Regions from separate parts of the Homo sapiens genome. Here all the other regions are linked to region 1. Evidence: promoter capture Hi-C in 16 types of primary human blood cells and fetal thymus (Javierre and others, 2016). All regions are on one chromosome and are shown on one strand. The core of a region is centred on a gene start or on the middle of the fragment in contact, and the rest is flanking DNA. Distances in the headings are between cores, read along the strand shown.

Region 1 (3,565 bases), core at 1-2,500:
CCCTAATTCTGGAGAATTTATACTCTGCCTCTTTTGCTTGTGTTTTAGGAAAGAAGCCCAAAATTCAGGGTACATGAATTAAAATTAAATACTAAGATCAGTAAACCTCAATTGGCACGAATAAACAATATGAAAGAGTAAGCACAAACACGATCTATTTGTTTATCCATCTTTCTTATTGTGATAGCTATACTATGAAATTTCTAAAACTAGATGGGAGACTGGCTTAATATTTTGGCAAATAACCACATGCAAGTTAATGAGGAATGGGAAATAGAGCACTCTGGATTTTAGCATAAACAATTAAAATAAAAAATGCTACATTTCCTATTCCATCAGTTGACGGTATACTTATTTTCCCGGGAGAAATTTGGAATCTAAGCAACTCAGGTCCAGTAAGTGCAAACAACTGACATGCTTAGTCCAACAGGCCCCTGTGAGCAGGCCCTCTAGGGCATTTCCTGACGCCACATGACCAAGACCTTCCCCCCTAGTGGACGCTGCGGGTGATCAAGTGGCCCTGAGGAGCAGGGGCCTGAGACCCAGTCAAGCCTGCTGTCAACCTCCATCTGATGGAGGCCACGTCCTTTTCATGAGGCTGGTAGGAATGTCGCTGTATACCCCCACTATTTCTATTTTCGCAACATTCTTCCCAGTCTTTTCCTTCCTTCTCTTCGTCCCAGCCAAAGTAAAAGCATCCCTGGAATTTAATGGACTGAAAGGAGACCGGACGACTGAGGGGTAGAACGGGGCCCGAAGTGGCTTTGGAAGCAACGGGGTTAAGGGAGAGGCAAAAGGGTTGAGCAGAGAGAGGCAAGAGGCAATCTCCCCCTACCCAACTGCCCCTCCCAGGAGCAGATACGGCACCAACAGCCGGCGAGTCCCTCCGGCCTGGAAGACAAAGGAAGGATCAGGGCCCAGTGGTGACGGGGAGGGTGGGGGCAACGACTCGCGTGAGCTCGGAGACGTGAGAACGCAGCCCCCGCCCCGTTCTCCGCCTCCCCTGAGAAAGGCGGGGCCCCCACGCCGCCCCGAGACAGGTCTCCCCGCCGCGCCGGCAGCGGGTCCCAGGCGGCCGCACACGCCCAGGCACGGGATGCTGCGGGAGAGCGCGGTGGGGGAGGGGAAGGACGCGGAGGCGGAGCCGGCGGGCAAAGAAAGGCCGAGCGGCGGGGCGGGGGCGGGGGCGGGGGCGGGGTCTGGGCTGGGCGGGCGGGGCGGAGCCGGCCGGCCGGGGGCTGCCTGAGACAGTTACTGCCCTGACGGCGGCGGCGGCGGCGGTTGGCCGGTGGGGGCTGGGGCGAGCACGACCGATTCTGCTGGGAAAGCTGGAACTGGCAGCCGCCGGGGGCCAAGAGGAGGATCCGGAGCTGGGAGCGTGCCCCGGGCCCGGCGGAGGAGGCGGCTGCAGTTGGAGTGGAGTCTTGGGAGCGCTGCTGGCAGCGACTTCTCAGCGAAGCAAGTGTCTGAGACTGAGAGTCCCTAACAGCGGCAGCGGCGGCCACGGCGGCGGCTGGGGCCGAGGTAACCGGGGGGCGGCGGCGGCGGTGGAAGCGAGGCCCCTCCCTCGGGTTGGAAGCTGGGAGGCCGAGGCCGTGGCTTGGACCTGACCCAACCACCCACCCTCTCCGGCCTCGAGCCCCAGATTTGCCCTCTTCCCTCGCACCGCCGTCGGCCGGGTGGGAGCGGGAGCGGGGCATGGGGCGGGAGCGCAGAGGCGGAAGCCGACCGGGAGGCGACCCCTCGTCTGGGATTGGCAAGGACCTCAGTCACCCCCTCCCCCTTCAAAAGACACACCCCAATCTCGGTGCGGGGCGGGGTGCAGAGGCGCTCCCAGCCTCTGGAAGGGCAGACCTCGGTGTGGAGGCTGCACCTTCGCTCGTGGCCTCTCTGAGGTGGCTCCCCTGTGGCTCCTCTGGGCGGTTCCAACCCAAGGTGGTGCCCGGCGCTGGGAATCCCGGAGTTCCTTTTGTCTGTCAGCTGAAACTGGAGGCCGGACCTGTGGGCAGACACCCACCAGCACCGAAGCACTCTACTCTTTATCCCTTTCCTGTCTTGGAAGGAATTTCTCTCTAGCAGCCTTTTCTCCGGCCAGACTGGTAGATTTTATCCCTGACCTCCATCCTTGGCCCAGAGGAAGGAAGGATTCACATTTTACTTGTGTTTGCTTTATCATTCTTATAAGAACAGTCATCCCCCATCGTTTTTGTTTTTTTTTTTTAAACCGTTTCCCATCCAGCTGCAACCCTGGTAATCTTCCCCTAGATTTTTGCACATTATCAACAAAGAAGTGTGGCTGGAGGAGTAGACAGTCCTTGACTGACTGGACTGTGTAAGTTAATAGAGCTTCCTTAGCTGGCGCTGTTCTACCAGTCTACTGTGAATGAGCGTTTTGCCTGGAGTTAAGGGTGTTACTGTATGTGCGTAAAGTTTCTCCCCCCCTCCTTTGCTATGGTGAAGTTGCAAAAATCTTGGGTAACTTGATTAAAATGTGGCTGTTTGGGAAGCATAACAATGAGGAAGAAAAATGCAGAAGGGAGAATGTGATTATTTCAGTGGTTTTTGTCCAACTTTTTGAAAGTGCCAAAGGTGAAGTACGTGGATTTTTGAGATTACGTTAACTGGTACACTGCAACCTTTATTGTCCTTAATAAGTTTTTAACATATGATATTTTGCACTGAGGTATTTTTGTTTGTTTTATTTTAGTTACTTGTGGAAATTGTTGATTACCCGGACGTCTTAAAACCAAGAAACCTGTGAACAGGTTCATTAAGAATCTGCTGTCTTGAAAAATGCATATTATGAATGCTTTGAATTAAGAAGGTGTTAACAGTGGTTGTCATTTCTGCCACATAAGAGACTATAATCTGAAACAGTTCCTGGCAGTTGCCCAGATGCCTGAAACTGGCACGATCTAGTACTCTTGAGTGATCATCCTTCAACGAGAAATACAGAGCTACTTACATACTGTACCTCATACCGTATAAATGTAATCTCTCTGATGCCATTTAATGCAGTGGACCTCTTTTCAGAATCTAATTGTCAGATGCAGAATTAACACTTGGAATCTGGAGAAGCATTTTGTACAAATTGAAAGATTGGGTTTTTTCTTTAGTTTTCCACATGTATTGTCTCATCTCTGTTCTTGAAACATCCACAATCACATAAACTCCAGTTATAACCATGGAGTTATGTGACTCATTAAAATTTAGGAAAAGTGTTGCTGAGCTGTGGAATCAGGCGTTTCTCCCTCAGTTCAACAACTAATACATAGACTGCTGATCAAGAATAAGGAACCAAATAAAGTCATGCACGTTCTGTTGACAGAGGAACTCTGTGGCTGTTGAATTTTACTGTAACTAGTTACTCTGTCTTCAGAGTCAACTTAATATACAAGTTATGTCATAATGGATGGAAAGACCTGTGTTGATGTATCCAGACTCTAGCAAATGAAGATAAAAAACCCGTTATGACTAATCCTTGGGAAGAGAAAGTCTGCAAAATGGCTCAAACCAGTTTACTGCAAGGGAAGCAGTTTTACTGTAGGGAGTGGGTTTTCCACAA
Region 2 (3,565 bases), core at 716-3,215, 570 kb before region 1:
TGTTAGCCAGAATGGTCTGGATCTCCTGACCTCGTGATCCACCCACCTCAGCCTCCCAAAGTGCTGGGATTACAGGCGTGAGCCACCGCTCCTGGCCAAAAATGTCAATCTTAATAGTAATAAAGTTTAATCAAAGTGTGTTGTTATAGACTGCTATTTCATAAAATTAGTGGTACTTTAGTACACTTTAGTACATAGGGATAATTTCTCATCTCCTTACAGTAGGAAGTTTATAAAACAAACAGGCATACATTACATATTTGTTGATAAATTTATAGAAGATTGTATTTGTCAGTTTTCACACTCCTATAAAGAACTACCTGAGACTGGGAGATTTACAAAGAAAAGAGGTCTAACTGATTCACAGTTCACATGACTGGAGAGGCCTCAGAAAACTTACACACATGGCGGAAGGGAAAGCAAGGCACATCTTACATGGTGACAGGGTAGAGAGAGAGAGAGAAACTACCACACACTTTTAAACCACCAGATCCTGTGAGAACTCACTCACTATCAGGAGACCAGCAAGGGGGATGTCCACCCCCATGATTCAATCACCTCCCACCAGGCCTCTCCCCTGACAGGGGAGAATTACAATTGGAAATGATATTTCAGTGGAGACACAGAGCCAAAGCATATCAAAGGTGTTATTTTGTTTTTGTTTTGTTTCATTTGACATAATGTGGAGAAAACAATTTTGAAATCCTTAGGCACCAATTCTTAACAAGATACTAATTCTATCAATCCAGGGTTTTCCAAAGAGACAGAATCAATAGGATACATATATATACAGAGAGAGATATTATTAATAGATATAGGTATAGACATAGATACATGAGGGGGATTTTATTAAAGGAATTAGCTCTCGTGCAATTATGGGGATTGAGAAGTCCCATGACAAGCCCTGGGACGGAGACCCTGGGATGCTAGTAGCATGGCTCAGTCCAAGTCTGAAGGCCTCAGAACTAAGGAACCTCATGGTGAGCTCTCTGTTTAAGACTGAAAGCCTGAGAATCTGGAGATGGCAGGGGGCGTGGATATTGGTGTAAGTCCTAGAATCCCACGGCTGGTGAACCTAAAGTTTTGATGTCCAAGACAGGAGAAGAAGAGTATATCTCAGCTCTTTGAAAGAGAGACCTAATTGCCTTTTCTGGTTTTGTTCTAGCCAAGCCCCCAGCTGACTGAATAGTGTCTGCCCACATTGACAGCAGATCTTTGCCACTTAATCCACTCAGATTAACATGCTAATTTCTTCTGGAAATACCTTCTCTCTAGGAATTATCTAATCCAGTCAAGTTGACACCTAAAATTAACTATCACAAGAATATTTGCCTGTCACTACTAAATTCTATACTATACCACTACTAGTTCTACTATTAATTTTATGTCAACTTAGTGCAAAGTTAAGCTTAGATTTTAGTTGTTTGACAAATATAATTGATATACTAAAATAGCTTACAAACTTCAAGCAAGGAAAACGTGTTTAGGTCCTAATATGTCCAGTTTCAGTGTCAGACTGAACTGGGCTTAAAATCCAAATCTACCATGTCATAGTCATATGATGTTGTAGAGATACAGCTAGTTGACATTGGAATCCCACCTAGAATCTAAGGATTCCTGTTCAGGTCAGTACTTCATGAAAGGTTAAAAAATAGTACTTGCAGACTGAGAGATCTTACATTTCTACCTCAAAAGCTGGTAGTAAAAATAAATGAAAATAAATGACTCTTGTGAAATGATTTGTGTAATAATACCATTACCACAAATAGGCTGACTACAATGATTAAATTCGGCTATTATGAAATATCATATTTGCATATTCTATATCCTTCTAGATCTAAATTCTTACGAAGTCACTTCTAAAAATGTTATTTTTCAAAGTGGCCACATGGTGGCAGACTTCAACCAAACAAGGACAGTGTTTCTTAAAAACCCTTCATCATTTTATTTTAAGCGATTTGTAAAAGCCAAAAGTTTACAAAATTAAATCCAGGACAGGCACTATATTTTACACCTTTATAGTCTCAAAACGTAAACTTAGAATTTTATGTACTAAGACAGAGTTCTATTTTGACATCAATGAAGAGCTCTTTCTATGCCTCAAAGATTGCTCTATAGGGTGGAAGAGGGCACAACTTTCTTCCCACTGGATAGCCTTTCTCTTCTGAACCTCTTCTTTTTGACCAAGTGAAAAAAAGTTCTGAGTAATTGGAAAAATCTATTAAGAACATGAGTATCGTGGTCCCACTGGTAAAAGTTTGTAGCTTCTTTGTTGGCTTCACTACTTACTTTCTTGAATGACTTGGGCAATTTCTTAATGCTCCTTGCCTCTATTTTCTTTTCTGTAAGGTGCGAATAATAAAACCAGTTCCTCCAGAGGTTTCCTGTGAGAACTGAATATGCCTGCAGAGCACGTGGAACAGGACTTGCACATAAGAAACATGCAACACGCACTGTTGTTATGATTACTATCCTGTATCATTAACAAAAGAAATGTAAACAATGAAGGGTTATTAAGCTTATCCTTTATATTTGAAAACTGGGGAAAAAATAATCACAGAGTAAATCTAATTTGCAAAATTTTGGGAATAGTGCAGTATACCTGGAAACTGTAAACCAGCACATATTCCTTTCCCTTCCCAGGTGTCCTTCCATCCTTCTTTTGTTTGTTTATACACCTTCCCCAGGGAAATCCCCATGAACACACACACTCATATGCACACACTCACAGCAGCTGAAAGAAGAGTAATCTAGGTAATACTACATCTGGAAACAACAAGGAATGAACATGGCACAGTGAGAATTCTTCAAAGAGAGTTGTAGCATAGAGATAGTCATGTGTCCAGGATAAAAATAAAAAAAATGGTTGAAAAAATATCACTGTATCAAATTCTCACTATTCTCCACTTTCACACAATGCTCCCAGGGCAGAAAGAGAGATGCAGAGGAATATTTGCACATGGAACTAGTATTTAAAATTATTTTTCTCAAAATTGAATATAAGGGGTAAAAGATGATAGTTGTTGGGTTTAGAAGTTATGGAGGAAAGAGCCACAAAAAGAATGACCATTAAGGACCGGGCGCAGTGGCTCACGCCTGTAATAGCAACACTTTGGGAGGCCGAGGCGCGGGGATCACAAGGTCAGGAGATCGAGACCATCCTGGCTAACATGGTGAAACCCCATCTCTACTAAAAATACAAAAAATTAGCTGGGTGTAGTGGTGCATGCCTGTAGTCCCAGCTACTCGGTAGGCTGAGGCAGGAGAATCACTTGAACCTGGGAGACAGAGCTTGCAGTGAGCTGCGATAACGCCACTGCACTCCAGCCTGGGTGACAGAGACTCTGTCTCGAAAAAAAAAAAAAAAAGGAACGAGACTACCAGCTGAAATTACACATCTTCTTCAGCTTTTCTTATTGAACCAGACGACATGAATGAAAGTCAAGTAATTCAAATTAAAATGGTTACTCATTACTGAGAGAGTTGAACATAAATACATTTATTTCTTCCCTTCTTCATACATTTACTTATCCATTTATTCATACAAAAAACATCTGTAAGACTG
Region 3 (3,565 bases), core at 426-2,925, 530 kb before region 1:
TGAGTAATCTTAAAACAAAATGTGAAATTTTCTTTTAAAAATTGAGTCACTATATATACAAATGTAGATGTTATTCTACAAATTGATATTTATTTTACTCAAAGTCTCTGTTTATAGTTATAGAAAGATCACAAACCTACTTTCAGTGAAATGTCTTTGCAAAATAATGAATTATAAAATATGTTAATAGTAATCAAAGATAAGAAAGAATAATTAAAGCTATTGAGTGCCAAACATTGTTCCAAGAAAACTCCACTCACTATAGCATTTAATTCATATAACAACCCTATGAGTTATCTATCAATAATATTCTCAATGTATAGTTGGGGGCACAGAGGGCTTAAGTAAATGGCACAATTTACTTAACCATTTTAATGTACTTAACCAATTTAATGTAACCATTAGCATAATGTTACAACAGTTGACTAAAAAAAGTAGTAGATACAGGATATATGTGTATGTGTATGTACATATAAAAATATAGAGAATTATGTGTGTACACACATGCACACACACATTTTGATAGTGATGTCATTGTTTAGATCTACACAGCATCTGAGATTTTACCCTACTTGTAAGTTAGAAAATTAGCCTGGAACTGTTTTATATATGCTCATAAAAAAACACAAAAGTCCTGTAAAGGAGACAAAGGACTATATTACTCACAGCAAATGTAGTAGCCAGAGCTTCATATTTATACCAGTTTCCTCTGTCCTCCAGACCCACGGGTGTTTATACATGCAATGGATTGTACCGCAGCAGAGAAACATTGAGGTTGGGGAATGTATTGCTTTTATAGCAAGTGGGAACAAGCCTGCTTTCTGTCCAGGGGCAGATGCTACCTCTTCTCAAGGTTGGACACCATAATCACAACCTTGGAAGATGGCTCAAATAGCAGTCAGGACTTTGCATTTTTAGAATACCCAGCAAGAACATGCAGGAATGTTTAGGCTCCATGGCAGAGTGCCTGTTCAAACAGTCATCCATTGATTTTAATATGAAGTGGTTTTCATTTAATTTAATATTTTTATGGCTCACTCCTCAACCTCCAAAGGACAAGAAGAATGGATGACCGATGGCAATGCTGTAAAAGCAAGATAAAGAAAACTCTTCATATTTCCTCTGATTGCATTTCTTCTCATTTCTTGTAGGCAATATTGTTTGGCAGACTCAGCTTATTTTTGTTCTTGTTTTTCTAGATTGTTCCATTACATTTTCATTCATTTAATAAGCTTTTACCCAGTGCCCAATTTGTGAACAAATTTGGCTCACAACCTCATAATATAAATTTTATTCAATATAATTATTTTAGAATTTAATGGTCTTTTAAAATCTCTAATATATAAGAATGTTATATTTTGATTTTTAACTTTATATCTAATACCATGTGTCAAAAATAAATTGCATTTATAAACTCTATCCATGATTTTATATATGTTATAAGCTATACTGCCACTTAAATTGTTTCTTGTTTTAATTTGTGATATATCTTCTATTTTTCTCTTAGGTATTCCTTTGTTGAAAGCTAGTAGTAGTTTCTTAAAACTATTTTATTCACAATATTCATTTTTTTCAATAGAAGATGATTTAAAATTATTACTTATAATAATGGCATTCCAAAACAATGCTTTATTTACCTTACTATTTATCTTACAATCTTCTTTAGTATTTATAGCATCATCTTTTACCAGAAATTACAGATTTAGAAAGCTAACTTCACAACTGGATTTCTAAGTGTCTATAAAATCCAGAAGTCAATGAATATAACTTAAAAATAAATTTTAGTATGAGACGTGGGTCTTTATCACCGTAAAAGTATAAGAATTCATTTTCCATCACACTATGGATTCGAAATCCTTAAAGACTGGCACTACATTTTATTTCTTATGTTATTTTTTTCATGGAATACAGGAAATCACATGCATAATACATTTTATTAGGACAAAAAGTTTAAAAATAAACTTTAGAGAATGACTCTGATACTGGAATTGATAACTCTAAGTTATTGTCTGAATCCACACCAATTTATCATTTTTTTCTGGTGAGAGTATATCCTAGGATCTAATACCACATTTCAAATATTAGTTACATGACATTGGGCTGTTCGTGTCAAGCTTCTTGCCTTCATTCATTTTGAAAAAAAAAAGTTAAAAACTATTATTGAGAAGCTTCCCTGAAATTATAGGTAGAATTAACACATACTGGTAAACAGAATGTATATTTGATTATACAAATTTATCACTATATATTTGTACAGAGTTTCTACGTTTAGTAAAAATTCCAAAATTCTATTTTTTGAATTAAGAATTTCAACTTTTCAATTTAATTTTTTGGGAAACTGTAGACTTCTGTAATTGTCAGAAACTTTGAAGATTACACTTGTCTACCTCATTCAGAGAGGAAGATGTGTCTGAAAATACACTTCAGATGTGGCCATCATTCTTTTCATGAACATTGCCCATGTATTTATGCAAGTACATGGAGACAAATTTATTTTTCATGTAATAGGTACATAGGTATCTATTCATTCAAAAATGTTAAATTAACTTAAAGAAACATCATGCTATGAAGGAAAGAATATGGGTCTTAGAATTAGACGTGTTGTATCATTGGGTCTACTATATACTAACCACAAATATTTGTATTTATTCTTTCTGAATGCCAATTCCTTTAATTTTTTCTGATGTTAAAAATGTCAAGATGAAAGTGTGAGACAAATAATACTGTCTTAACAACATAAATTATTACATAGGTTAGACATCTAGAAGTCTACCTAGAAAAGTCAGTCAACATTGTCTACTCTTTTCGTGATTCTCCTTATATCAATTTTTACAATGCTTTTGTGGTTCAAAGTAATTATACAGCATTCACACACACTATCTTATGCACAGAAAGAATGTAGGCTTTTAAATAATAAAAAACAATTGCAACATTCTGACTTAAAGAAGACACTTTTCATATTTCACTTTAAGCTATTCCAACATATTTGTGCAGAGTTAATCTCTCTTTGTATTAGTAAATATAATTCAGAAGTATTTTACCAGACATTTCTTTCTTTTAAAGAAGTGTGGGTAAACTTCAGATCTATTGCTTTAGGGCAGCTCTTTTTCAATTGTTATTTAATGATGAAACTGTACTCTTTTTTAATCCTGGGCAAGTTTTGTTTTGTTTTGTGGGTTTTTGGTTTTTTGTTTTTTACAATTGCATGTTTATTTACCTGGAATTCTGATGTGAAAAAAGATCAAATAATGATAGAAGCATACTTTCCTTTGAAAGCAGATATTGATATGTCACAATGAATCTTTATTCTCTACCACTGCTACATCTATAATTAATTCACAATGGGGAAGAATTGATTACTTTCTTTATGCTTCTAATCAAAAAAATTCTGCCTTAAAAATAAATTAGCAGTGATAGAACAACTCTGAGGATTTACCAGCACTATTCAAATATCTAATCACTAGCAGAAGGGAGAAGATGCTTTAGACAATGAATTTCCTACGAATGTGGGGGAATTTAGAATTTATTCTGTAAATGAGCTGTTTTCTGTCAATCATAGTTTACA

The links. The method cuts DNA at HindIII sites, captures the fragments that hold promoters and counts their contacts. A CHiCAGO score of 5 or more calls a contact.
Region 2: a contact is called between a fragment that was not itself captured here and the fragment with the promoter of ANKRD50 in region 1, in 3 of 17 cell types (endothelial precursors, M1 macrophages and megakaryocytes). The highest score is 11.2, in endothelial precursors.
Region 3: a contact is called between a fragment that was not itself captured here and the fragment with the promoter of ANKRD50 in region 1, in 1 of 17 cell types (endothelial precursors). The highest score is 13.3, in endothelial precursors.

What each region holds. Positions count from the first base shown.
Region 1 is chr4:124,710,417-124,713,981 of GRCh38, reverse strand. It overlaps ANKRD50 (ankyrin repeat domain containing 50), which reads left to right and starts at 1,250. Exons shown (of 5, transcript NM_020337.3): 1 at 1,250-1,524; 2 at 2,708-3,565. The coding sequence starts at 3,471. RefSeq lists enhancers at 711-1,276, 1,277-1,842 and silencers at 994-1,373, 1,524-1,763. The HindIII fragment of the contact is 8,904 bases long and covers 1-3,565 here.
Region 2 is chr4:125,282,228-125,285,792 of GRCh38, reverse strand. No RefSeq gene overlaps it. Among named protein-coding and RNA genes, the nearest start is that of FAT4, 31 kb to the left of the region's middle. The HindIII fragment of the contact is 1,110 bases long and covers 1,411-2,520 here.
Region 3 is chr4:125,241,334-125,244,898 of GRCh38, reverse strand. No RefSeq gene overlaps it. Among named protein-coding and RNA genes, the nearest start is that of FAT4, 72 kb to the left of the region's middle. The HindIII fragment of the contact is 882 bases long and covers 1,235-2,116 here.